Regions from separate parts of the Homo sapiens genome. Here regions 2, 3, 4, 5 and 6 are each linked to region 1. Evidence: promoter capture Hi-C in 16 types of primary human blood cells and fetal thymus (Javierre and others, 2016). All regions are on one chromosome and are shown on one strand. Each heading gives the region's core, a stretch centred on a gene start or on the middle of the fragment in contact. The rest is flanking DNA. Distances are from core to core; before and after follow the strand shown. Region 1 holds the start of SLC6A19 (solute carrier family 6 member 19). Region 2 has its middle 13 kb from the start of MIR4277. Region 3 overlaps LPCAT1 (lysophosphatidylcholine acyltransferase 1). Region 4 overlaps TRIP13 (thyroid hormone receptor interactor 13). Region 5 overlaps LOC107986397 (a long non-coding RNA gene). Region 6 has its middle 35 kb from the start of MIR4277.

Region 1 (4,079 bases), core at 384-2,883:
GTGCAAAGACAAATAACTTCCCAGGCAGGCTCAGGCAGTCCCAACCCCTCCTCTTCCCAGGAGGCATGTGTCTGCCCCTCCATCCCCAGTGGGGATGTGAGCCTGTGACTCAGTTTCTCCTCCAAGCTAAACAAACTCAGGGTGTGGGTGAGCGCAGGGATCCTCCCCACAGGATAGGGCCCTGGGGGAGGGGGCGAGGACAGTGGCCAGGAAGTCCCCTGAGGCTTTGGTGAGCTGAGACTTGGGGACTGTCAGGGACTATAGTATCGGAGTGGCCAAGGTCCCCCGACCTGCCTCCAGTGGAAAGTGCAGGCTGGACCAGAGGCTCATGAAGCGCCCACCCCCGCAAGGCAGTGATCAACTCCTTGACAATGCTGGAGGCGAAACTGATTCAGGAAAAGCCCATTTCTGTTTTTCTTTAAAAACCTTCACATCACAAAGCCCGCGTGAGAGACAGCAGCTCTCCATGGTGAGAAGGAACAGGGCCCCCTGAGGGCAGACTCCTCTAAACGGAGGCTGAGACCTTCACGGCCCCCCCGTGAACTGCCCCAGGGCAGCAGGAAGCCTGTTTCCCAAGGGTGCCCGGCCCTCCTGGACCTTCCGCTGAGAAAGCAGCAGGTTTATGAGGGCAGCAGCTTTGGGGTTCGCCAAGCCCAAGGCTGAGTTCAAGTGTGGGGGTCCTAGGTACAGCCCCCTGCCAGGCCTGGGAGCCACTTCTCAGATGCTCAGGACCACTGGGCAGGAACACAAATGTCACCTCTGTGCCAGCAGCGGCCATGCCTACCTGGGCCGCAGGAGCCAGAGGAACGAGGAGCAGTCAGGCTTGTGTGTTGGGTGGGCACAGCGGCTCCCGGCCTCCAGGCCTGAGGGCACCTGGCTCAAGAGCCAGGCCCGAGTCCACAGGCTCCGGCTACCCACTCTGCTCCTCTAGGGTCACCTGCCCCCAACCCAGCTACCTCCTCTGCTCCCTGCACTGGCAGGTGTCCGCCTGTGGGGCTGGGACGAGAGGTGATGCCCAGGAGGGCCCAGCCCCGCGTCCTCCGAGGAGGGGCTGTACCGGGAGAAACACCCTTCCCCCGGCCCCACCCTCAGGCCAGAACGTTCCAGGACTGCCAGTCTGGAACACAGGGCCCTCCCTGGAGCCCCACACGAAGTCTTGGGGTCGTGCCGGCCAGGCCCATCTCCTCACCAGCAGCCTAGGAACCGGGCACGGGGGCCCGTGGGGGCCCCAGCTCCCCCCACACCCTGCGGCTTCTCCTCTCCCCTCCGTGCTTGGGGAGCCGAGGGTCCGGGGAGGATGTCTGCCCAGGGCCTCTGCGTGTGTCTGTGCTTCCCTGGCCACGGCCTCGCCCGCAGCCCCGCCCGGCCAGCCTACCTCCTCCGTGGCTCTGACACAGGTAGGGGAAGCGCCACACGTTGCCGAGGCCCACGCAGAAGCCCAGGCAGGTGAGCATGTACTGCGCCTTGTTGTCCCACTTCGGCCGGGAGCTGGCCTCCTCCTGCTCGATGGTCTCCAGCTCAGCCAGGGACGGGATCCGGGCGTCTAGGCCGGGGTTGGGCAGCACGAGCCTCACCATGGTGGTCGCTGGACGGCTCCGCACACAGCAGGCAGGGCAGAAGCTGGAGGGCGAGTGGCCGTGGGCCGGGAGCCGGGCACTTTATAGAGAACCTTTGGCACCTCGCCCCAGGCACCTGGGCAGAACGGAGCCAGTCGTCAGCAGATCTGCAGGGTGCGTCTGCGGAGGGACTGTTAATGCCTTATCTGCAGAGACGCCCGGCCCCGGGGCCAGCAGAGCCACCCACTGCCTTCGGGCAACCGGAGGCTGCTCCGTGGGCGCTGGCCACCCCTCCCCCTGCACAAACGCACACACAAATGCGTACAAACGCCGGTGCACCCCGGGGAGAAAGAACCAAGGCAAACAGGATGCTGGCTCTGCCCCGGTCTGGGAGCCCCTGGCTGCCGCACACCCCCACCTGCAGGACGCCGGGTGGGCCTCTCCACAGCTCCCTGGAGCACAGGCATCCCCGGCCCCCACCCCAGTCCAGGGAGAGGGAACTCAGCGGGAGCAGGGGCCCTGGGGCAGCTCTTGGTCTGCTCACACCAAGCACAGCGAGGCCCTGGACCCCTCCAGCCTGGCTCTGGGCTCTAGACGGCTGCTCGGGGGCCCGGCTTCCCACCAGTCCCCACGGAACCACGGCTCCTTGGGATGTGGCCTGAATCAACCTGAGAGTGGGGTTCCCGTGGCTGTGCCCCCTGGGCCACAGTTTCATTCTGGGGTTCGTAATGAACTTCATAATGAACAGCTCACGCTGCCCAACCCCAGCCTGGATGCCCGGATCCCATCCCTGGCTGAGCTGGAGAACATCGAGCAGGAGGAGTTCAGCTCCCGGCCATAGGTTCAGGACCCAGAGCCACCCTCTAGGGCAGCCTCGTCCCCAAGGGCCCTCTGGGGTCACGGGGGATGGAGGGTCCTGTGTCATGGAACCTGCAGCCACCCCAGATCCCCACCTTCCCGGTGACTGCACGGTTTCTGTCCTTCTGTGGAGCACTTTGTGGGGGGCAGTCCTGTGCCGGGCATGGGACAGCGAAGGAGATGGTGTTCCTGCTCCCCAGCAAAGAGGCCGTGCAGGGAAGCCACAGGGCTGACCACGGGGTCCAGGAGGGGCAGGAGGAACGTTGCGGGGAGTTCAGGAGAGGATCCTGGGGGTTGTGTCTCCAAAGCCAGAGTGGGATTCTCTCCTGGTTTTCCGCACAGGGAGTTGGAGGCCATCCTCTGTCGGGCGCTGCCCGTTTGGGCCCCCACTTGGGCCTCCCCTCACGTCTCTCCCATCTAGGAGACCTCAAGCTCTGGAATCCCGGACCAGCCTTCCTGAGGCCAGGGACGGTGCCACACCCTGCGCCTCCCCAGGCCTTCCTCCCGTTGCCTCCTTCAGCCTCTGGGCTCACCTCCCTGGGGGCCCTCGCTGGCCCCCTGCCCCCACTGCCCACATGGCTCCTTCCATAGCCGGGGCCTTCCCGGCAGGCATGGGACTTTCTCCCTAGCCTCCTGGTTCCTTTATCTCAGTCTGCACCGCTGGGCGATAAGGACCCAGAGCCGCCCCCGCCCCCACCTCCACCCTGCACAGGGCTCATCGACATTCGCTGAGTAATGGAGATGAAGGCGCTGGGGGCGTCACTCAGAGATGAGCGAGTTTAGGCGCCTGACCTTTGCCCCTAGGACACAGGAACTCAGAAAGGGAGGCCAGAAGGAAGAGATCACGTTTGCATTTAAGGACTCCTGGCTTCCGAGCACAGCGCAGATTGGAGGGAAGGGTGGGGACTTGGGAAGACAGAGAGAGAAAGACAGAGACAGAGAAAGAGAGACAGGGAGAGACAGAAACAAGGAGAGACAGAGAAAGAGAGACAGGCACAAAGACAGAAACAGAGACAGGGACAAAGACAGAGAGAGGTAGAGACAGAGACGAGGAGAGACAGAGACAGAGAAAGAGAAACAGGAACAGAGACAGAGAGAGGGAAAGACAGAGAGAGAAAGGCAGAGACAGAGACAGGGAGAGACAGACAAAGAGAGACAGGGAGAGAGAGAGAGACAGAGAAAAAAGAGAGAGACAGAGAGAAAGACAGACAGAGAAAGACAGGGACAGAGAGAGGGAGAGACAGAGACAGAGAGAGAGACAAAGACAGAGACAGAGAGACAGAGAGAGATGGAGACAGAGAGAGAAAGACACAGAGACAGAAACAGGGAAAAAGAGAGATGGGGAGACAGAGACAGAGAGAAAGAGAAAGACAGAGAAAGAGAGAGGGAGAGACAGAGACACAGAGACAGGGAGAGACAGAGATAAAGAGAGAGACAGACATAGACAGAGACAGAGAGAAACAGAGAGATAGAGACAGAGAAAGAGACAAAGAAAGAGACAGGGAGAGCCAGAGAGAGAGAAAGACAGAGACAGACAGAGGAAGAGAGACAAGGAGAGACAGAGATAGAGAGAAAGGGAGAGACAGAGAGAGAGAAAGTACAGAGAAAGAGAAACAGAGAGATAGAGGCAGAGAAGGAGAGAGGGAGAGACAGAGACAGAGAGAG
Region 2 (3,977 bases), core at 614-3,113, 490 kb before region 1:
ACCGTCACTTCAGGGAGAGGGACAACTGTGTTCAAGTCAGGAGATAAAGTGGCTGCATTAAAAGTCAGACTGGAATTATGGGTCAATGAGTGAACACTGGGACTTCTGACATGTTTCAAACATTAGCGGAGGTTTTGTTTGGAAAGAGACTGAGCCAGGGCCTTCTTTCCCCCAGCTGGTGCATGATCACCTTTCAGCTTCCAAAAGAGCTTGAGCATTACTTCCCAACTACAAAAGAACCCCGAACTGGGAAGGAATGGATCCGTGACCCATTTGTGAATAAGCCAGGTGAATCGACTTTGTCCTTGCTAGAAGAGGGTCGGCTGCTTGAGATCACAAATAATGGTGGCCTTACAAGTGTGTTTGAGACAACTTCAAATCTCCATATGTTCTGGACTAAAGTCAAGGTGGAATATCCTGAGATTGCCACAAACGCACTGAAAAACCTGCTTCCATGCCCAACATCCTGTCTTTGTGAAGCAGAGTTTTCTGCAGTGACAGCAACCAAAACGAGATTACAGAGTACACCGGACATAAGCAACACACTTTGGGGGTGACTGTCTCCATCACTCCCAGATGGGACCATCGAGTTGCAGGAAAACAAGCTCAGGGCTCCCACTGATTATACGTGATAGTGAGCTGTATAATTATTTCAGTATATAATACAATGTAATAATTACTAGGTTGGTTCAAAAGTAATTGCGGTTTTTGCCATTAAAAGTAATCTCTGGTGCCAAAAAATGTTGGGGACTGCTGCTTTAAATCATGCAGGTGGAATAAAGATGTGGTTATTTAAAAAGTTGAGAAAATTTATCTGCAACATACTTGCCTTACAAGGCATACTAAAGCCACATTTTTCAGCTCAAGGAAAATGTTCATGGGGGAAAGGATGAAAGGAATGAAGAGCACCACAAAGGATAACTGTTAGGGGCAGTGTGAGTGTATGGATTGTTTAAAGTGATCTTCTGGTGTTTGCAACGAACACAGAAGTAAAATATATGACTACAATGGCATTAAAGGAAATGCGAGCGGGGGCACGACAGACCACTCATAAGATCCTTCAACTGCTTGGGAAGTGATAAAAGTATTCGTTTCAGGTAGGTGTTTTGTTTTGTTTTGTTTTTTGTTTTTTTTCCCCCCACAGGGTCTCGCTCTGTCACCCAGGCTGCAGTGCAGTGGCACAATCATGGCTCACTGCAGCCAAAACCTCCCAGGCTCAGGTGATTCTCCTTCTCAGTCGTCTGAGTAGCTGGGACTACAGGTGCCCACCACTATGCTTGGCTTATTTTTCTTAACATCTTTTGTAGAGAACAGGGTCTTACTTTGTTGCCCAGGCTGCTCTCAAATTCCTGGGCTCAGGCAATCCTCCTGCCTTTGCCTCCCAAAGTGCTGGAATTACAGGCGTCAGCCACTGTGCCTGGCCTAAGGTAGGTTTTTATACTTCAACTATGCAAATAATAAACTATAGGGAAATAAAAAATATATAACTATAGTGCCAATAAAGTGGGGATAAATAAAGTAAAGAAGACACATGGAATAAACAGAAAATAAATTATAAGATTTTAGAATGACCATTCAACTATGAATATAAGTAAATTTAAAGGACTAACTTCATTATGACCAAGCTTGCCATATTGGTTTTTAAAAAGTAAAGAAAAAAAAATCCCACCACATTTGTAAGATGATGTTCTGAGTGAGTTTCCAATTTTCAGTCTTTACTGGGGTCAGGTCAAAGTCATCACCATGCCAGACAGATAAAACTTTCATAGAAAATAGTGTTACTGGCACAAAGAATCAGGGACAGAGATTGTGGAGACCTCAGCAGATGGAATTTGGCAGGATGAATTCTGAAAAACAGAGAACTACAGAGATTGATACCTGAGTTCTGTGTGTTAGACCTTTCCAAATCTCCAGCTGAGCTCTGAAACTGTGATTACAGTAAATGTAAAGAAACTGAAAATGAAAGAAATAAGCAGAGATTTCAGCTGTTTGCCATTATTATAAGGAAAGTGTTTGGAGTTTACATTCAGGCAAATTAACTGCCTCTAAAAACAGATAAAATAGCAACAGTATTCCAAAGAACAAAAAGAATCAAGCTTTTACAATGTTTAACAATAATATCCTGCTATAATCCCTAAAATTTGTAGATATTATATTTTTCTAAAAAAGGAAAACCAGAAAAATGTGACCCACAATAAAGAGTAAAGGCAGGGCCAGGCGCAGTGGCTCACGCCTGTAATCCCAGCACTTTGGGAGGCCGAGGCGGGCGGATCACGAGGTCAGGAGATTGAGACCATCCTGGCTAACACAGTGAAACCCCGTCTCTACTAAAAATACAAAAAATTAGCCGGGCGTGGTGGCGGGCGCCTGTAGTCCCAGCTACTCGGGAGGCTGAGGCAGGAGAATGGTGTGAACCCAGGAGGCGGAGCTTGCAGTGAGCCGAGATTGCGCCACTGCAGTCCAGCCTGGGCCACAGAGTGAGACTCCATCTCAAAGAAAAAAAAAGAGTAAAGGCAAATGACAGAGGCCAACTCCAAGATAACTCAGGTGTTGGAGTTACTACACAAGAATGTTAAGGCAGAAATGATAACAATAACACTCAAGGGCATAAAGAATGAATGAATATTTGAAATGAATGAACAAATAGTAAATGTCATCAGAAAAATTAAGAGAACCAAATATAAATTACTTAAAATGTATAAAATATAAAAGAACTATATGAAATTCTATAACTGAAAAATATAATATCTGAAATGGAAAATGCAACATGTACACTTAGCAGCAGAATAGGGATGATACAGGAGCCAGTAAACTTGGAAGATACATTAACAGAAATCATCTAATCTTAGGGAGAAGAAGAAAAAAACTGAAAGACATCAATGCAGTCTCAGAGACCTGAGAGATACCATCAAAGGGTCTAATAGTGAAATGTGAGTCACAGGTGTACAGGAACAAATGGGGGAGAAAAACATTTTTGAAAAGTAGAGGACACATTTTCTCACTTTAGTAGAAGACATGAGATTAAAGAATCAAGAGGCCGGGCGCGGTGGCTCACGCCTATAATCCCAGCACTCTGGGAGGCCGAGGCGGGCGGATCACAAGGTCAGGAGATCGAGACCATCCTGGCTAACACGGTGAAACCCCATGTCTATTTAAAATACAAAAAATTAGCTGGGCGTGGTGGCGGGCCCCCGTAGTCCCAGCTACTCAGGAGACTGAGGCCCAAGAATGGCATGAACCCAGGAGGCGGAGCTTGCAGTGAGCTGAGATTGCGCCACTGCACTCCAGCCTGGGCGACAGAGTGAGACTCCATCTCAAAAAAATAAATAAATAAATAAAAAAGAATCAAGAAACCCAAGTGAACCCAAAGCAGGATTGACAGAAAGAAAAGTATCCCAAGCACATTAGGGTCTAAATGAGGAAAGTCAAAGGTAAGAGGAAACATTAAAAGCAGCTGAAGAAAAAGCACACATCATACACAGGAGAACAACATGCAAACAACTGCTGGACTTCTCAGCAGAAATAACGGAAGCCAGAAGACAGGAAAATGACATCTCCAAAGGGCTAAAAGAAAACACCGAGAATTTTATACTCCAGCAAAATATCCTTCAAGAATAAGGACAAGCAAACATGCTCTCAAAGAAGGAAAATCTAAAAAAACATGTGCCTAGCAAATCTACACTCCAGAAATGCTAAAAGCTCTTCAGGCTGAAGCCAAATGACATCAGATGGAAGTCAGATCCTCCAGAAGGTCTGAGGAACACCAGTTTCAATAAATACATGGGTAAATGTAAAAAATTATTTTCCTTTGAATTTTTTAAAATTAACGTAATCGTTTAAAACAAAAATTATAAGGGGTTTTCAAGGCTAGTTTGGTAGGCAGGGGACCAGGGAATGGGGAATATTGTTTGGGGATGAAATCATAGGGGTGCACTGAGTCTGCCCCTGGGGGGACCACAGGATTGGTTGAGTCATGA
Region 3 (3,695 bases), core at 1,192-3,691, 270 kb before region 1:
GTGACTGCCCCACCAACTGGCCCTTCCCCTGTCTCACTGCCTCTCCTCAGCCCTCCTCTCCCCTGAGCCATCGGCGGTTATTCTGGTGGGGCGGTGGGAACTGGCTGCCACGAGGCTGGGCTGACGGGGGTGCTGCCCTCCTTGTAGGGCCTTGGGTGTCTCCGTGACTGACTACACGTTCGAGGACTGCCAGCTGGCCCTGGCGGAAGGACAGCTCCGTCTCCCCGCTGACACTTGCCTTTTAGAATTTGCCAGGCTCGTGCGGGGCCTCGGGTGAGTACCTGGTTCTTCTTCCTTGAGCATTAGCTAGAACCCGTGATGCCGAGGTCTGGCGGGGGCTGCCTGGGGTTGCAGGGAGGGGAACTGAGGAGATAATTATTAATTATTCTGGCTTTTTTCAAATATCAACTTAAGCCCACATAGTGTCTTTCAATCCCTTAATGCTGGCATCAGCTGTCTGTGGACGGCGCCCCAGGAGGGCCACCCTGTGTCCTGCCACATCTGCCCTGGGAAGGGAACGGGTCTCAGGGGCACAGGCACCTGGCTTGACACTTGGACAGAACACATCTCGCACCTTCCAATTAGGAGAATGCCTTTTCTTGAAAACTAGCTTGCTGCTACTTCTGTCAATTTTAATATTTTGATGAGTCTTAGAAGTAAATCTGGTGTTAGCATGCCACCATTTTATTGAAAAAGAAAGCTTTCCCTCTTTTTTTGTCTAGGCTAAAACCAGAAAAGCTTGAAAAAGATCTGGACAGATACTCAGAAAGAGCCAGGATGAAGGGAGGAGAGAAGATAGGTATTGCGGAGTTTGCCGCCTCCCTGGAAGTCCCCGTTTCTGACTTGCTGGAAGACATGTTTTCACTGTTCGACGAGGTAGGGCCTGTCGCCTGCGGAGCGGGGTGTCGGCAAAACCTCCTGCTTTTTGAAGCATAAATTGTTCTCATTCTAATATAAATATATTTTCACATGAATTTGAAAGCAGAGAAGGAAAACCACCCATCACCACCCCACCCTATCATTTTGAGGTATTTCCTTCCATGCTTTTAAATACGCGTACACATTTGACGTTTAAATTACCCTTCACTGATGAATGTGCCTGTGGTTTGGGGTTTTTCAGTGTGATTACGGAGTCTAACAATATCAAACTGTGACACCCAGCCTGGGGTCTCCAAGGGACCCCCTGCAGGGTCCCCTGCTCACCAGAGCTGCTCTTTGCAGCGTCAGAGTTTCTAATAACACGCCCGTCCTCTATGATCGGCTTAGAGGCTCCCCGCCAGCCTGTGGGTGTGGGAGGGCTTCCTCCTGGTGCAGCCGCCCACTCCCCTCTGCCCTCCGCACGTCATCCCCAGGTCCTCGTCGTAATTGATGAGGCATCCACGGTCACACCAGGTGGCCCTGAACATGGCGGGCAGCCTCGGGGTTTTAGGAAGGTGCGAGGTGGCACGCAGGGGCGGGACAGGCTGCCACGGCGAGCCACAGGTCAGCCAATCCTGGTCTTTTCTGGGTGTTAGTGTCACAGCATGGACACTTACACTGTGGTCCTGGAGGAGCTGGTGATACGCCAGGGTGTGTGTAGAAGGCTCCTTCAGCCATGACTGTCCCGTGACAGCATGAGATGTCCCGTGTGACAGCACCATATATGTTTTGCACCAACACGGAGCAGCTGCAGTGCAGTCCTGGGTGGAACCCGGGCTGGCAGGAGGCCTCTCTGGCCAGAGAGCAGGTGAGGAGCACTCAGGACAGGGGGAGGACTCTGGCCAGAGAGCAGGAGGAGCAGGAGAGAGGAGAGAGGAGCACCCAGAGGCAAAGGAAGGACTCCCTGGTTGGAGAGAGCAAGAGAAGATGAGGAGCACCCAGGACAGGGGAAGGAGGCTGCCCCGCAAGTATGCAGAGTGTGAACCAAGGATCACAGTGCGTGGCTCAGGGCATTCTCCCACACGCACCAGAGGGGCCCCCAGCCACGGGCCCTCTGCTACAGGGCAGCTGGAAACAGTGTCTCGGATGCGAGTCCTGCCTAGTGTCCGTAAGGGGCCCCCAGCCGCGGGCCCTCTACTACGAGGCAGCTGCAAACAGCGTCTCGGATGCGAGTCCCTCCTGGTGTCCGTGCCACATCTGCAGCTGCGTTTGCACTCAGGCGCTTTACCACAGTGTTGGAATTGAAACGTGAAATGGTGAATACTGGTTTCACAGGCAGCATTCCTGGTTTCACAGGCAGCGTTCCGAGGTAACTTATGACACTGTGCAGTTAATTTTTTATTTTCTGCAATTTCAGATGCACATGATCTTATGAGATAGGAGTATTCTCCATTTACACCCAGGACCTCAGACCCCCAGCCCGAGACCTTCCCAGAGCCAGGGACTTGTAGTCATTTCCACCTGCCAGACACCCAAGCCCCAGTCCCAGTACCCCATGCCTTGCAAGGGGTGTGGCGTAGCACAAAGAAAGCTATCAGTTCCCTCAGAAGACCTTCAGGGACCTGTGTGCGTCTCACCCCTAGCACCTACAGCCTGTGGTTGACACAAGCGTAGAGGGGCAACTACTGGTCAAAGTCCTCCCTCTGCCCCTGGGTGCTCCTCACCCCCAGCTCTCTGAACAGGGAGTCCTCCCTCCGCCCCTGGGTGCTCCTCACCTCGCCTCCTCCTGCTCTGACCAGAGTTCTCCCTCTGCCCTTGGGTGCTCCTCACCTGCTCTCTGGCCAGAGTCCTCCCCCATCCTGGGTGCTCATTATCTCCTGCTCTCTGATCAGGGAGTCCTTCTGCCCCGGGTGCTCCTCACCTCACTTCCTCCTGCTCTCTGACCAGAGCGTCCTCCCTCTGCTCCTGAGTGCTCCTCACCTCCTGCTGCCTGGCCAGAGTCCTCCCCCTGTCCTGGGTGCTCCTCACCTCCTGCTCTCTGGCCAAAATTCTTCCCCTCTCCTGGGTGCTCCTCATCTTCTCTTGCTCTCTCCAGCCAGGGAGTCCTTCCTTTGCCTCTGGGTGCTCCTCACCTCCTGCTCTCTGGCCAGAGTCCTCCCCCTGTCCTGAGTGCTTCTCACTTGCTGTCTGGCCAGAGTCCTCCCCCCTATCCTGTGTGCTCCCCACCTTCTCTTGTTCTCTCCAACCTGGGAGCCCTCCCTCTACCCCTGGATGCTCCTGCTGCTCTCTTCCTGGAACCTCCTCCTGCTCTCTGACCAGGGAGTCCTCCCTCCACTCCTGGTTGCCCTTCATCTCCTGCTGTCTGACCAGAGAGTCTTCCCCCTGTCCAGGGTGCTCCTCACCTCCTCCCGCCCTGACCTGGGAGGTTCTTTCCTGTGGCCTGGGCACACCCTGCAGCCACGTGCAGACTGTCCCCATCGTCATCAGAAGTGCAGACCCTGTCAGCCCCCACCTGTGCCTCTCACCACCCTGCTCACTCACATCAGCATGTCCCTGGAGACTCTGGGTGTGAGGAGTTACTGAGAATGGTCAGCGCGGGGCTGACTGGCTTCCACAGCTGGCCCGGGCTGCTGTTTAGCTCCACGTCACAGCTCCGGGTTCACCTTCTTTCTGCAGGATGAATGGGTTGCCATAAACAGACCAAATTCCTAGAGCCCAGAATCAGCCTTGGTGCTTAGGGGGTATTCTCAAATGCAGGTCTTGGCAGGTGGCAGGCATTGCATCGCGTGTGCTTTGCTGAGGTGCTTCCTGTGGCAGCCTTGTGAACTTTGGGAAGT
Region 4 (3,643 bases), core at 319-2,818, 300 kb after region 1:
TTTCTTGATAAATGGAGGTGGAGGGGTCATGTGTTATTCCTGTTGCCCCCAGAACCACCCTCTTTCCTAAGACAATTCTCAGTGGGCTCATACCCCATACTAGAAGAGGCAGAGGCCAGCACTCTTCTTGCACGCCTGCCTGCCAAGCGTCCCCTAGCATGATGTGGGCGGCAAGCCACCCAGGTGCCGAGGCAAGAGACCGAGGGCACGAGCTGTTCCAGTATAATAAAATAAATAAAATAAGAATAATTATACTAGATATAGATCTTAGATATGATTATATATGAATATTAATCATTAATTTGTAGCAATTACTCTTTATTCCAATATTATAATAATCCTTGCTCTACAATCATAACCTAGGAAAAACCAGGCCATACAGAGATAGGAGCTGAGGGGACATAGTGAGAAGTGACTAGAAGACAAGAGTGCGAGCCTTCTGTTATGCCTGGACAGGGCCACCAGAGGGCTCCTTGGTCTAGCAGTAATGCCAGCGTCTGGGAAGAAGCCCGCTGCCAAGCTGACCGTGGTCTAATGGTAGCGTCAGTGTCAAGGAAAAACACCTGCTACTTAGCAGACCGGGAAAGGGAGTCTCCCTTTCCCCCGGGGAGTTTAGAGAAGACTCTACCCCTCCACCTCTTGTGGAGGGCCTGACATTAGTCAGACCCGCCCGCAGTCATCCAGAGGCCTGTCTCCCTGTGATGCTGTGCTTCAGTGGTCATGCTCCTAGTCCGCCTTCATGTTCCATCCTGTACACCTGGCTCTGCCTTTTAGCTAGCAGTAGCAAATTAGTGAAAGTACTAAAAGTCTCTGATATGCAGAAATAATGGTGTAAGCCGTCTCTCTGTTTCTCTTCTCTCTCTCTGCCTCAGCTGCCAGGCAGGGAAGGGTCCCCTGTCCAGTGGACACGTGACCCACGTGACCTTACCTATCAGTGGAGATGGCTCACACTCCTTACCCTGCCCCTTTGTCTTGTATCCAATATATATCAGCGCAGCCTGGCATTCGGGGCCACTACCGGTCTCCGCGTCTTGGTGGTAGTGGTCCCCCAGGCCCAGCTGTCTTTTATCTCTTTGTCTTGTGTCTTTATTTCTACACTCTCTCGTCTTTGCACATGGGGAGAAAACTCACCAACCCTGTGGGGCTGGACCCTACAAAAGATGCCTCACAGAAGCTGCGAGGTGACCAATATGGAAAAAGGAAAGCATCTAACAGAAAATGGAGACATACAACTCTAATTTTCTGCAGGTATTTTCAAGAATTAAAGAGGAAATACGTAACTGGTTCCAAACAGAAACAACTTATTTCACTAATTAAAACACCTGCTGCTTACTCTGACTGTGCTATGAGGGCAGTATGCGGGGCCTGTCTGCTCTTTAAAAGAACATTGTGTTTTAAGGTCACTTTGTCACGCAATCTTAACTGACTTAAAGAAGCCAAGTACCCTTCAAGCTTCTATTTAACACTTGGCTACAGTTTCATACTCTCGAGTCCACTCAATTCCCGTGTCCCCATTCTACCCGGTGATATTGACAACAAAACAAAACAAAACCAAACAACAAACCATCAGTATTTTCTCCTGAGAAGAACCAGACAGAATTTCTTTAAAATATGGCTTTTTCAGTTTACTCCTCACAAAGTAAAGCTCTGAGTACTACAAGCCTAATTTATAAGTTAAGCTTTATCATAGGAATGTCTGTAGGAAAAAATAGTCTACATAAGGTTTAGTATTATCCACGTTTGGGGCATCTGAGGATGTCTTGGAATGTGGCCCCCCACAGGAAGACTTGATTAAGTGCCGAGTAATCAATGCCCCAGGGGCCGCGCGCGGTGGCTCAAGCCTGTAATCCCAGCACTTTGGGAGGCTGAGGCGGGCGGATCACCTGAGGTCAGGAGTTTGAGACCAGCCTGGTCAACGTGGTGAAACCCCGTCTCTACTAAAAATACAAAACTTAGCTGGGTGTGGTGGCGCATGCCTGTAATCCCAGCTACTCGGGAGGCTGAGGTAGGAGAGTTGCTGGAACCTGGGAGGAACCCAGGAAGTGGAGGTTGCAGTGAGCCGAGATCGGGCCACTGCACTCCAGCCTGGTCGACAGCGAGACTCTGTCTCAAAAACAAAAACAAACAAACAAACAAAAAATGTCCCAAGTGTCATGAGCTGGATCTGCTTCACAGAGAGGGGACATTCTAGGACAGCTGTGGCTCCTTCAGAAAACAAAGAGCCGTAACTCCTTGCAGAAGGACGAAGGTACAAGTAAAGGCTAAATTTCATGCCACTTATCTGGTCAAATAAAAGCCTGCATAATTTACCGTGGAGCAGCACCACCCGGTTCCAGGTGATGAGGTTGCTGTTGACGTTCTTGTCTGAAAACAGTAAAGTTGTCATCACATAATCGAGGAGCTGATAGAGAAAAAGAAAAGAGCTTGACAAAGATACCAACAAGGCAAAGGTCCCCAAGAAATGTGCCCTCCCCCAGGGCTTAATCCTACATGAGAAGAGGGAGCACAGGGAGCGAGGCCGCCTCCTAAGAGATCATCACCTCCAAACGCTTTCATTTCAGAAGAGAAGGTGCTTCCAAAAGGGAAAAGGAAAAACACTGGCTATTACTATTATAAATATAAGAAGAGCAACAAAATGATCACTTTTATTTAAAGTGCCAACATTAAACAAAACCACTAAGGGGTTTGTTTATCAAGTAATGAGTAAGCTCCTTCCCTAGAATGATACAGCAGTTATTATTCGCAAAATAACAACAGCCACAATGCAGAGGAGCAGTCTGAGTGATAGTCTCAGACTATCAATGCAGAGGACAGCTGAGTGATAGTCTTCTAGCCAGCTGCTGGCATGGGAAAGACCCTTCCCGTTGAAGAGGGTGCAGGGGTTAAGACACACCGGCCTTTCCTTTGTGCGGACCAGGCTTGCTCACCTTCCCTCCTCCCATCTCCAGAGGGTTTAATTCTCTAAGTTGCCTTCACGTTCTCCCTTTCCCTCTTCTCCCTCAGGGAGCTCCTCAGAGACCAGCTCTACTCTGGAGCAATACTAGAGGATAGATGTCCAGGACAAGGGCTGCCAGCAGACAGGGGCTCCCAAAAACCCATCTGCATCAAGTTGCTCAGGGGTGTTGGAGAGCAAAACAGTAATGGTTCCTCTTCAAATAACAGGGCATTCTGGGAAAAGGCACAGCAACTTACATGGGATTTGACTTCCACATCGTATACCAAGCTGTCCCAAAGCCCATGGAATTCAGCTGTGACAGAATTAAACAAAGACCTGATTTCAGGAAGGCAAGCAATTACAGCCACCCCCAGTCAGTCTCCCCTGAGCCTAAGCCTGAGCTTCCCATTGTGCTGCTCCAGGCAAGACTATGATTCTGATTACAGGAAAGTATAAATTCTGCAAATTTTTCTTCAAATTTTGATTTTTATTAAAATCAAAGATGCAAAATAAATGCCAGTCACATGTAACTTCTGGCAGACAACTGGATGGAGTCAAAGAATTACACTTTACGTCTCATTATCACGCACAATTGTCTTTTAAAAAAACTTTAACTTCCCATCCTTCTTTAAGGTATTGTTGTCATTTATTTTCCATTGACGTATAACATAATCCCCACAATATGTTTTCATTAAACTATCATTTTTT
Region 5 (3,927 bases), core at 9-2,508, 350 kb before region 1:
CAGCACCGTTCCCTCTGCCGCCGCCGCCATGCGAAGCCCTCCTCACCCTGTAGCCCCACCAGGAGGGAAGCTCCGTCCCTCAGCAGCCAGCACTCCCATGGGGATTCCTGCAGGAGAAACCTGAGGGTAAGGGGCGAGGCGAGCAGGATAGGGCAGGACCAGGCGTCAGGAGGGGGTCCCTGTCAGCCAGTGACCCGCACCCCACTGCTGGCCCTGGGGAGGCCAGGGTGGCCATGGCACCCGCCACTGTCAGTCATTGGCTCTGGGCCACCCACAGTCTGTGCTCGTGACCTCCCAGGCATCTCCCAAAGAGGTACACAGCCTCCTCAACTCGGCAAAGGGGTACAGGCCCAGACAGGGCATCTGGGAGGCACGGCAGCACCTCCACAAGCCCTGTGGACAACGGTGGGCCCCATCTGGCACCGCCCACTCTGCACATGGCACTCAGGAGGCGCTCGGGGCACCTGTGTTCATGGAGCACAGAGCAAAATGGCACTTGCGCGCACGTGGGATTCATGCCCCAGCCCGCTGTCCTCAGCCAATGGGCAGCAAGCTGGAGATACACTCCTTCCTGGAGGCCTCGGGCCAGGGGCTCTGTCGCCAGGCTCTAGATCAGCACTGACCCCTTCCTGGATCATGACCCGGACATGGGGTGGACCTAGGGCCTCGGCTGGGGTTGGAGAGATGATAAGGGAGGCTGTGGCCTGCAAGGTGAGGCCCGCAGGGCTCAGCATTGATCTGGCCTCCCCTCAGATTGCTCCAGTGGCCTCTCTCAGCCTCAAGCTTCTCATCAGTAAAATGGTGCAGAAAACAGGGCTTCATGTCCTGGAGGGTGTGAATTCACCAGGGCCCTAAATCACCCAGACCCCTACTGTGTCCTTGCAGGGACATGGCACTCCTGCGTTTGCTTCATTCCATTAAAGAGAAAAAACACAGACACAGCCACTGGTTGTAGAGCTCGTGGTAAACAACCCACCGCCGGCGCCCCGCTCCACAGCCACCCCACAGCTGCCGTTCTGACGCGCGGCCGCCACTGTGCAGCTCTTTCTGCTGGACGTGGCATCTTCGCCTCCTCCGACATCTAAGAATCCTGGGCCAGCCCTGTGGTTCACCACAAGGAATGCCGTACATTGGGCAACTATGAGCCAGGAAACCACACTCAGAGGAGCTGGACACGGGACATCAAGGGCACTGCTGGCAGTTGAATGGTGTTTGCAGAGGGAGGCAGGGAGACGAGGGCAACCTTGACCCAAGCTCTTGCTCGGATAAACACTTAAGCAACGTTGTCAGGAAGGAATCCATGACTCGATGGTTCAGCAAATATTAGCTCAGCAGGTGGCATTCAGCTGCTGGGGGCAGAGACAGCATTGCATGCAGACACGGCTCCACTCAAGTTGGCCCGCCCTCGTGTGTGAGGAGGGCGCCCGGCCAGCCAGCACCCACCCTGGAGGCTCCCTTGGCAGGTGCAGTCCACCTGGCCCAGCTGCAGACAAGACCCGTGGCTTGGAGGTTCTGGGTGTGTCTCTGTCTCTGTGGGCTGAGGGACATCGTGGAGCCCATCCTCAGCCCCATGGGAGCCTGAGACACTCCCTCCTCACTGCTCACACCAGACCAGGTTCAGAAAGAGACATGAGGCACTGTGCGTTTTGCAGAGTCCACAGGATGAACACAAGGGTTTGGATCCCAGACGTGCCAAATGCCTAAAGGGTGCACTCATTAAAAAACAAAGCTTTGAAGCTGAGGATCATTTCTGCAATGTGGAATAATCCTTGTTTTTAGAAAAGTCAGTTTTCAATTCAATCTGTCTCATAATTGAAAATCTTTATGTAGTGAAGTATCTTGAAGTAAAACAAGCTGCTAACAAGCCACCATCACAACTTAATGAGCGCAGCACAGGGGCACTTCCCGGCACGCGCCTGCCCTCGGCCACACGGCTGGTTTCCACCAGGCTCCCCACATGTTGCCTTCAGGCTGAGCCTCGGAGGCACCCATGTTGGCCGTAGCCTTGTAGAACAGTTAAAATTCATAAATGCACTGGAGTTTTGGGGGACCAAGCCGCTCACCTTGCAGAGAAGGAAGATGAGGTGCTGAACACCCAATGCCTTGATCAAGGACATGCAGTGGCCCCAAACCAGGACCTGTCCCTTGCCCTCGGCTGCCCTGTGCCCTGGTCAGGTGTGGTCAGGCCTGTGGAGTTTCTGTTTGGTAAAGACCTTGCATCAGGCATGTCACCTCCAAGATGTCCCTCCCTTTTACCCTGCCTCTCATTACCAAGCTCAGACACAACTTTACCTGCTTCCAGACACCCAATTAAAACCCATCCACACGTAAAACCTCTTGGGCCATGAGGAGCAGGGTTACACCTGGGGGCACTGGATGTGGGGCATGGCTCTTCCTGTGCCCTGGGCCCCAGGTGCCCCCACAAAGCCCTTGGCTGCCCTTGGGTCCACCCCTCCTCACCCCCAGCACAGCAGTTTCCGGCACTGAGACTTGCGCTCTCACCTGCTGAGACTTTCGGAGCGTTCGTTTGAGCAGCACCTGTGGCCAGTAAGATCCTCGCGTTGAAAGGCCTCCCAGCCTCTGGAGGCCTCCTGGGAGCCGCTGTCCTCATAGGATGTGTCCCCCAGGGGGAAAGGCTCCCCACCCTGCCAGTTCCTCCACCAGCGGGACCAGCAGCACCCATCTGGTCCTCAGCCCGCTGGGCTTCAGATCCCTGCCAGCCCACAGGATTCTCCCAACACCCTGCCCCAAGCCCCACAGAGCCAGGGTCCCCTCACCCTGTGGGCGGCCACTGCAAAGCCATGCAGCCCCTGAGAGCCCACCCTGTCCCCGAGTGGAGTGGGCCGCCTTCCACCCGCACATCAGCACCTGTGACCGTGGCCTGCTGTCACTCTCAGCTGTCCAGGGTTGGGTGCTGGGCACTCAGGCATCTGGTGCCATTGAGGGCAGCGGGTCCCCCTCACCAATAGGGTAGAGAGGAAGGAGGTGATCAGAATAGCCCCTGTGGCTCAGCAGGCCCAGCTTGCAGGCCCACCAGAGCCTTGCAGGACCCCACTTCCCCCATCAATGGGCTGCAGAGGAAACTGCAGGGCTGGGCTTTTCTATCAGAGGACCATCCGGACATCTCAGATTACAGAGCCACAAAGACGGGGAGCTGGCGGGGCAACTCCCCAAAATCCAAAGGAGTGGGGGGCTCTAAGTCACGGCGGCTCTAAGTGGTGAGGGCTCTAGTGGTGGGAGCTCTAAGACTTGGGGTCTCCAAGTCGTGGGGGCTCTAAGTAGTGGGGGCTCTAGTGGTGGGGGCTCTAAGCCGTGGGGTCTCCAAGTCGTGGGGGCTCTAGTGGTGGGGGCTGTAAGTCGTGGGGGTCCTCAGGACCCTCTTTGGCAGAGGAGAGCCCACCTGGGCTAATGCTCACTGTCTGGAAACTAAAGACCAGCTCCGTGCACTTTAGGACGTGAAGAAAAGGCAGAGTGAAGGAGGCTCCTGAGCGTCCTGTAAACTCTTGGAAGTTCCTCCGGGTTCGGGGCGCCTCTTTCCCAAGCCAAGCCCAGCAGTGCTGTCTGCTCCCCCCACCCCTGGGCTGACCTAATGAAAGCCCGCTCTCTCCAGGCGCCCATCTGTGAGTCCGTCGCGGCAGGCCTCGGCGGGGCCCTCTCTGCTCAGAGCTCTTCTGGGTGGAACAGAGGCTTTTTGTTGCACGGGATTTCCAGGGCTGTGCTGGCTTCATGCACCGAGGGGCCTGCTCTATAGGCCACGGCCGCCGGGCCAGCGTCCAGCGGGAACACAAGGGAGCTGTGTGTCGCTGGGTCAGCATCGTGGCCCAGCCCGGCGGGAAAGTGGGGTGGCTGCTACTAAGGCTCTGGCTTGTTTGAATGAGGTTGCTTTTCCCAGAGTAGCTGAAGTGTCAGTCCACGCCGAGAGCTGGT
Region 6 (3,952 bases), core at 1,103-3,602, 470 kb before region 1:
GGTGATGTGCATTGTGACTATTACGCTGCTGAGTGGCTGCATCTCACTGCCTTCCTTTAGTACACGTTGAGGACATTTCCCCCAGAAGGAAGTGAATTTCCTCGTGGTCCAGGTGCTTTCTTTGAAGGTTGATTTAGGCTTTATAGAGTTGGAGATAGATTAGCCTTCACCCTAGATCTGGTTTGGCCCTGATACTAAGGTATGCCTTTTCTGGGATCTTTACTAAAAGTCCTAGGCATTCAACAAAGTATTTCTACCCTGCCTGGTCAGAACTTGAATTTGTCCCAGCCCTGTGCCACCTCTGATAGTTGTTCCTTGTCCCACCTTAGCAACATTTCTTTGTCAACAGAAATAGCAAAGGTGGTGGAATTAGCAGGGAAGCACTTTTAAAAAGCTCTTATGAATATGTTCAAGGATTCAAAGCAAACTGAACACGATTAATCTTTATTTTTGCTGATTCCTATTTAGGATTTTCTCAGACTTTGTTGTTTTAAAGCTTCATTTTGATGTGTCTAAGGATGGATTTCCTCTTGTCTAAATGTTTCTTGCGATAATTGGGATTCTTAAATGTCTGTATTGGTGTCTCTAAAAATTTCTGCACATCATTTCTTCACATGTTTTATCTGCCTCGTTTTCTCTTAGCCCTTCTTTCATTAGACAAATCTGTTATTTCCTAAATCCTCCTGGGAAAGTTACCTCTTCTTCTATAGTGTCCTTTTAAAATATTTCTGTTTGGGGAATATTTTTAGCTGATTTTACAATTTGCCAATTCTCTTCTCTGTTGTGTTAATTTTCTGTTACACCCATCTATTGAGGTTTTTTGCTATTTTTTAACATTTTATTTCTGGAAATTCTACTTAATTATTTTGCAAATTATCTATTTTTAAAAAATTTTCCTGATTCCTGCAGATATTTTTAAGACTATTCTTAATTTTTTATTTTATAATCCATGTTTAATACTTGCAATTTCTGGATTCCTTAAGGGCCTGTATTTAGGAAGTCTTAGTTGTACAAAGCTGTGTGTTTCTAGGTTACTCAGAATACAAAGAGAGTGGAGGTGGCTGGGCACGGTGGCTCATGCCTGTAATCCCAGCATTTTGGGAGGTCAAGGCAGGTGGATCACCTGAGGTCAGGAGCTCGAGACCAGCCTGGCCAACATGGTGAAACCCCATCTCTACTAAAAATACAAAAATTAGCCAAGCATGCTGGCACACGCCTGTAATCCCAGCTACTAGGGGGTGCTGAGGCAGGAGGATCGCATGAACCTGGGAGGCAGAGGTTGCAGTGAGCTGAGATCGTGCCACTGCACTCCAGCCTGGGCAACAGAGGGAGACTCCATCTCAAAAAAAAAAAAAAAAAAAAAAGAGAGAGAGAGAGTGGAGACAGGGCGGGGCACAGGGGCTCACATCTGTAATCCTAGAATTTGGGAGGCTGAAATGGGAGGATCACTTGAGCCCAGGAGTTCAAGACCAGCCTGGGCGAGACGAGCCTTAGTGAGACCCTGTCTCTACAAAAAAAATAAAAAAAAAAAAACCAGTCAGGCATGGTGGCATGTGCCTGTAGTACTAGTTACTTGGGAGGCTGAGGCAGGAGGATTGCTTGAGCCCGGGAGATGGAGGCTGCAGTGAGCTGTGATTGCACCACTGCACTCCAGCCCAGGCCACAGAACAAGTCCCTGTCTCAAAAAACAAACATATATATATATATATATATAGTGAGAGTGGGATTGAAAAAGGACTTTATTTCTCTAGAGAGTTCAAAAGTATTTCATAAAAGGGGATATTTCTGTTAAATTCATAATTCATTTTTTAACTTTGATGTCCACAAACTCCTTGTATGTTAGAAACTTTACTTTGTCTTTTGTGGATGAGGAAGCTGAGGTCTGGGTGAGATAACGTCTTGCTCGGTTCTCCCAGTGGCGAGGCCTGGACTCACTCCAGCTGCTCTGATTACAGTTGGATGACGTTTAGGACACAGGCTAAGAGACATGAGACGGCCGCCCGAAGGTGAGAGGGCGCCAAACAAGCGTGCGAAAAGGAAGAGCTGCTGGGAATACCCGAGCTTGAGACCAAGAAACTCACACGGGCTTCCCTGCATGTCACCAGAGGGTGGCACGGAAGTGTCAGGACAGGTGGGGAGATGGATTAGGACGGGAGGCCGAGGAGTGGCAGAAGACAGGACAAATCGGCCTGCATGCTCCTCCCCGGCCCTTCATGCTCCTTACCGCCTTCCGTGCTCCTCACCACCTTCCATGTCCCTTCCCAGCCCTCCATGTCCCTCCCCGGCCTTCCGTGTCCCTCACCAGCCTTGTGTGTCCCTCCCCGGCCTTTAAAGTTTGCAGGGGCTGCCGCCTGCTGCTCGCCTCAAGCCACGGTATGTCACAGTGACTGAGTGATGAAAAACACCTCTCAGAAAAGTGAAATACCATTTCCTCATCTCAGTATGTTTTGCTCAGAATTTGAGGAATTCACACCTAAACTTCTTGTTCTCGCATACTTGAATGTTTAAAAAAAGAGAACCACGTTGGTTTCTGTGTGAACATTTATAAGATATGCCCCAAATCCCAAACATTTATCTGAAAAATAAACCTCGAACTCTTTATCATAGCGTAGCCCTCCCTCCCCGTTTGGCGGATGCCACCCCCACCTCAAGACCCACTGCATACATCACACACACAGCGGCTATGACTCCTCCTGCCCCGGGGGTCCCTGCACCTCGGGCAGCCCTGAGCTCTTAGCCCACTGAGAGACCACTCAGCACCACACCCCGCGCTCTCCCCGACACCTCTATACCCATCACTCCCCTCCACCAGGCACCTGGCGGCAAGGGAGGGATTTACATCCTTCTTAGGTGCTCTGAGTGAGTTCTGCAAGCTGTCCAAGGCCCTGGGGAAGAAGGCAGATGCAGATGCAAGCTGGCTCCCCGAGTGTGGATGCACATCAGGCCCGGGCTAGGCGCTCGCATTAATGACCTTCGCAGCACCAGGAAAGGCAGGCATTCCGGGCTGGGCATTTCGTGTCATATTCTCAAGGTCAAGCAGCTATTAGATGGCAGAACCCGAATTTTAATCCTGGTGCGTCTGACCACCCCAAAACACCAGACTCTTTGCAATCTACTATGTTGTTTTAAAAAAATAAATTACTTTTCAGTGATGGTGAATGAGCTAATAAAAATTACACTGCGTGGCAAAGGGCAGTGATGGTTCCTTACTCACCCCCGTGGGGCCGACTACTTTGTTCCCTCAACCCCCGGATAATGTTGACTTGTGCTGATGCTGTCAGATTTCCTATGGTCAGTCCTTTTTTGGAAAAACAAGGCTCCCCTGTAACCAAAAGAAAAGTTGACATGTCCCCGGGGCCTGCAGTTATGGGTGGGGCTTGAACGTCACCCGAGTCTAAGCAGCTCTCTGCCCGTGAAGCTGGGGGTGGCACAGCCCCTCTGCCCCTGAGCGACCCCACGCACACCCCTAATCTCCACTCCTCGCTCACAGACGTCATGTCAGCAGCTTGAAATGAGCCAGGGTGGGGGTATTAACACCACGGAAGTCAGCGCACACTGCAGATCAGGGCTGTCTTCCCCAGACATAGAGCTTCCCAATATTTACAATCACGCCACGGGAGTACACTAGGAAAAATATGTTGAGAGCCCGGGTGATCTTCCTCATGCATTGGAAATATAAAATTAAATCAAATTTAAAAACTAGAGGGTCAACATTTGACAACGGTTCATACATGAAAGCATAAGAATAAAACTACTATAAAGTAAATTTTAGTGACAAGTTTTTTTAGTGGCGATAATACGTACGAGTCCTTTTTAATGCTTTAACATGGGGATTGATGCCACCGTCACAGGGCAGCCACGCCCCTCGCCCGAGACTCTGGGAGTTGCTCTGCAACAGCACTTGGGAGGCCTGGGGTGCCTCCCATGGACACAGCACCATCCGTTTTCAAGC

What was found. Contacts are between HindIII fragments. The CHiCAGO score rates a contact against its expected background, and 5 or more counts as called.
Region 2: a fragment that was not itself captured here is called in contact with the fragment with the promoter of SLC6A19 in region 1 in 1 of 17 cell types (monocytes); the score reaches 7.2 in monocytes.
Region 3: a fragment that was not itself captured here is called in contact with the fragment with the promoter of SLC6A19 in region 1 in 1 of 17 cell types (naive CD8 T cells); the score reaches 5.5 in naive CD8 T cells.
Region 4: a contact is called between a fragment that was not itself captured here and the fragment with the promoter of SLC6A19 in region 1, in 3 of 17 cell types (M1 macrophages, erythroblasts and fetal thymus). The highest score is 6.1, in M1 macrophages.
Region 5: a contact is called between a fragment that was not itself captured here and the fragment with the promoter of SLC6A19 in region 1, in 1 of 17 cell types (non-activated CD4 T cells). The highest score is 5.6, in non-activated CD4 T cells.
Region 6: a fragment that was not itself captured here is called in contact with the fragment with the promoter of SLC6A19 in region 1 in 5 of 17 cell types (naive B cells, monocytes, total CD4 T cells and 2 more); the score reaches 7.6 in naive B cells.

What each region holds. Positions count from the first base shown.
Region 1 is chr5:1,199,149-1,203,227 of GRCh38, reverse strand. It overlaps SLC6A19 (solute carrier family 6 member 19), which reads right to left and starts at 1,633. Exons shown (of 12, transcript NM_001003841.3): 1 at 1,376-1,633. The coding sequence starts at 1,577. The HindIII fragment of the contact is 15,195 bases long and covers 1-4,079 here.
Region 2 is chr5:1,693,850-1,697,826 of GRCh38, reverse strand. No RefSeq gene overlaps it. Among named protein-coding and RNA genes, the nearest start is that of MIR4277, 13 kb to the left of the region's middle. The HindIII fragment of the contact is 471 bases long and covers 1,628-2,098 here.
Region 3 is chr5:1,471,138-1,474,832 of GRCh38, reverse strand. LPCAT1 (lysophosphatidylcholine acyltransferase 1) reads left to right here. Exons shown (of 14, transcript NM_024830.5): 10 at 148-273; 11 at 723-876. Among named protein-coding and RNA genes, the nearest start is that of SLC6A3, 28 kb to the right of the region's middle. The HindIII fragment of the contact is 3,401 bases long and covers 741-3,695 here.
Region 4 is chr5:900,099-903,741 of GRCh38, reverse strand. TRIP13 (thyroid hormone receptor interactor 13) reads right to left here. Exons shown (of 13, transcript NM_004237.4): 4 at 3,193-3,248; 5 at 2,311-2,401. Among named protein-coding and RNA genes, the nearest start is that of TRIP13, 9.0 kb to the right of the region's middle. RefSeq lists a silencer at 354-648. The HindIII fragment of the contact is 227 bases long and covers 1,455-1,681 here.
Region 5 is chr5:1,552,826-1,556,752 of GRCh38, reverse strand. It overlaps LOC107986397 (a long non-coding RNA gene), which reads right to left. Exons shown (of 2, transcript XR_007059102.1): 2 at 798-3,927. Among named protein-coding and RNA genes, the nearest start is that of LPCAT1, 31 kb to the right of the region's middle. The HindIII fragment of the contact is 946 bases long and covers 786-1,731 here.
Region 6 is chr5:1,671,502-1,675,453 of GRCh38, reverse strand. No RefSeq gene overlaps it. Among named protein-coding and RNA genes, the nearest start is that of MIR4277, 35 kb to the left of the region's middle. The HindIII fragment of the contact is 3,707 bases long and covers 499-3,952 here.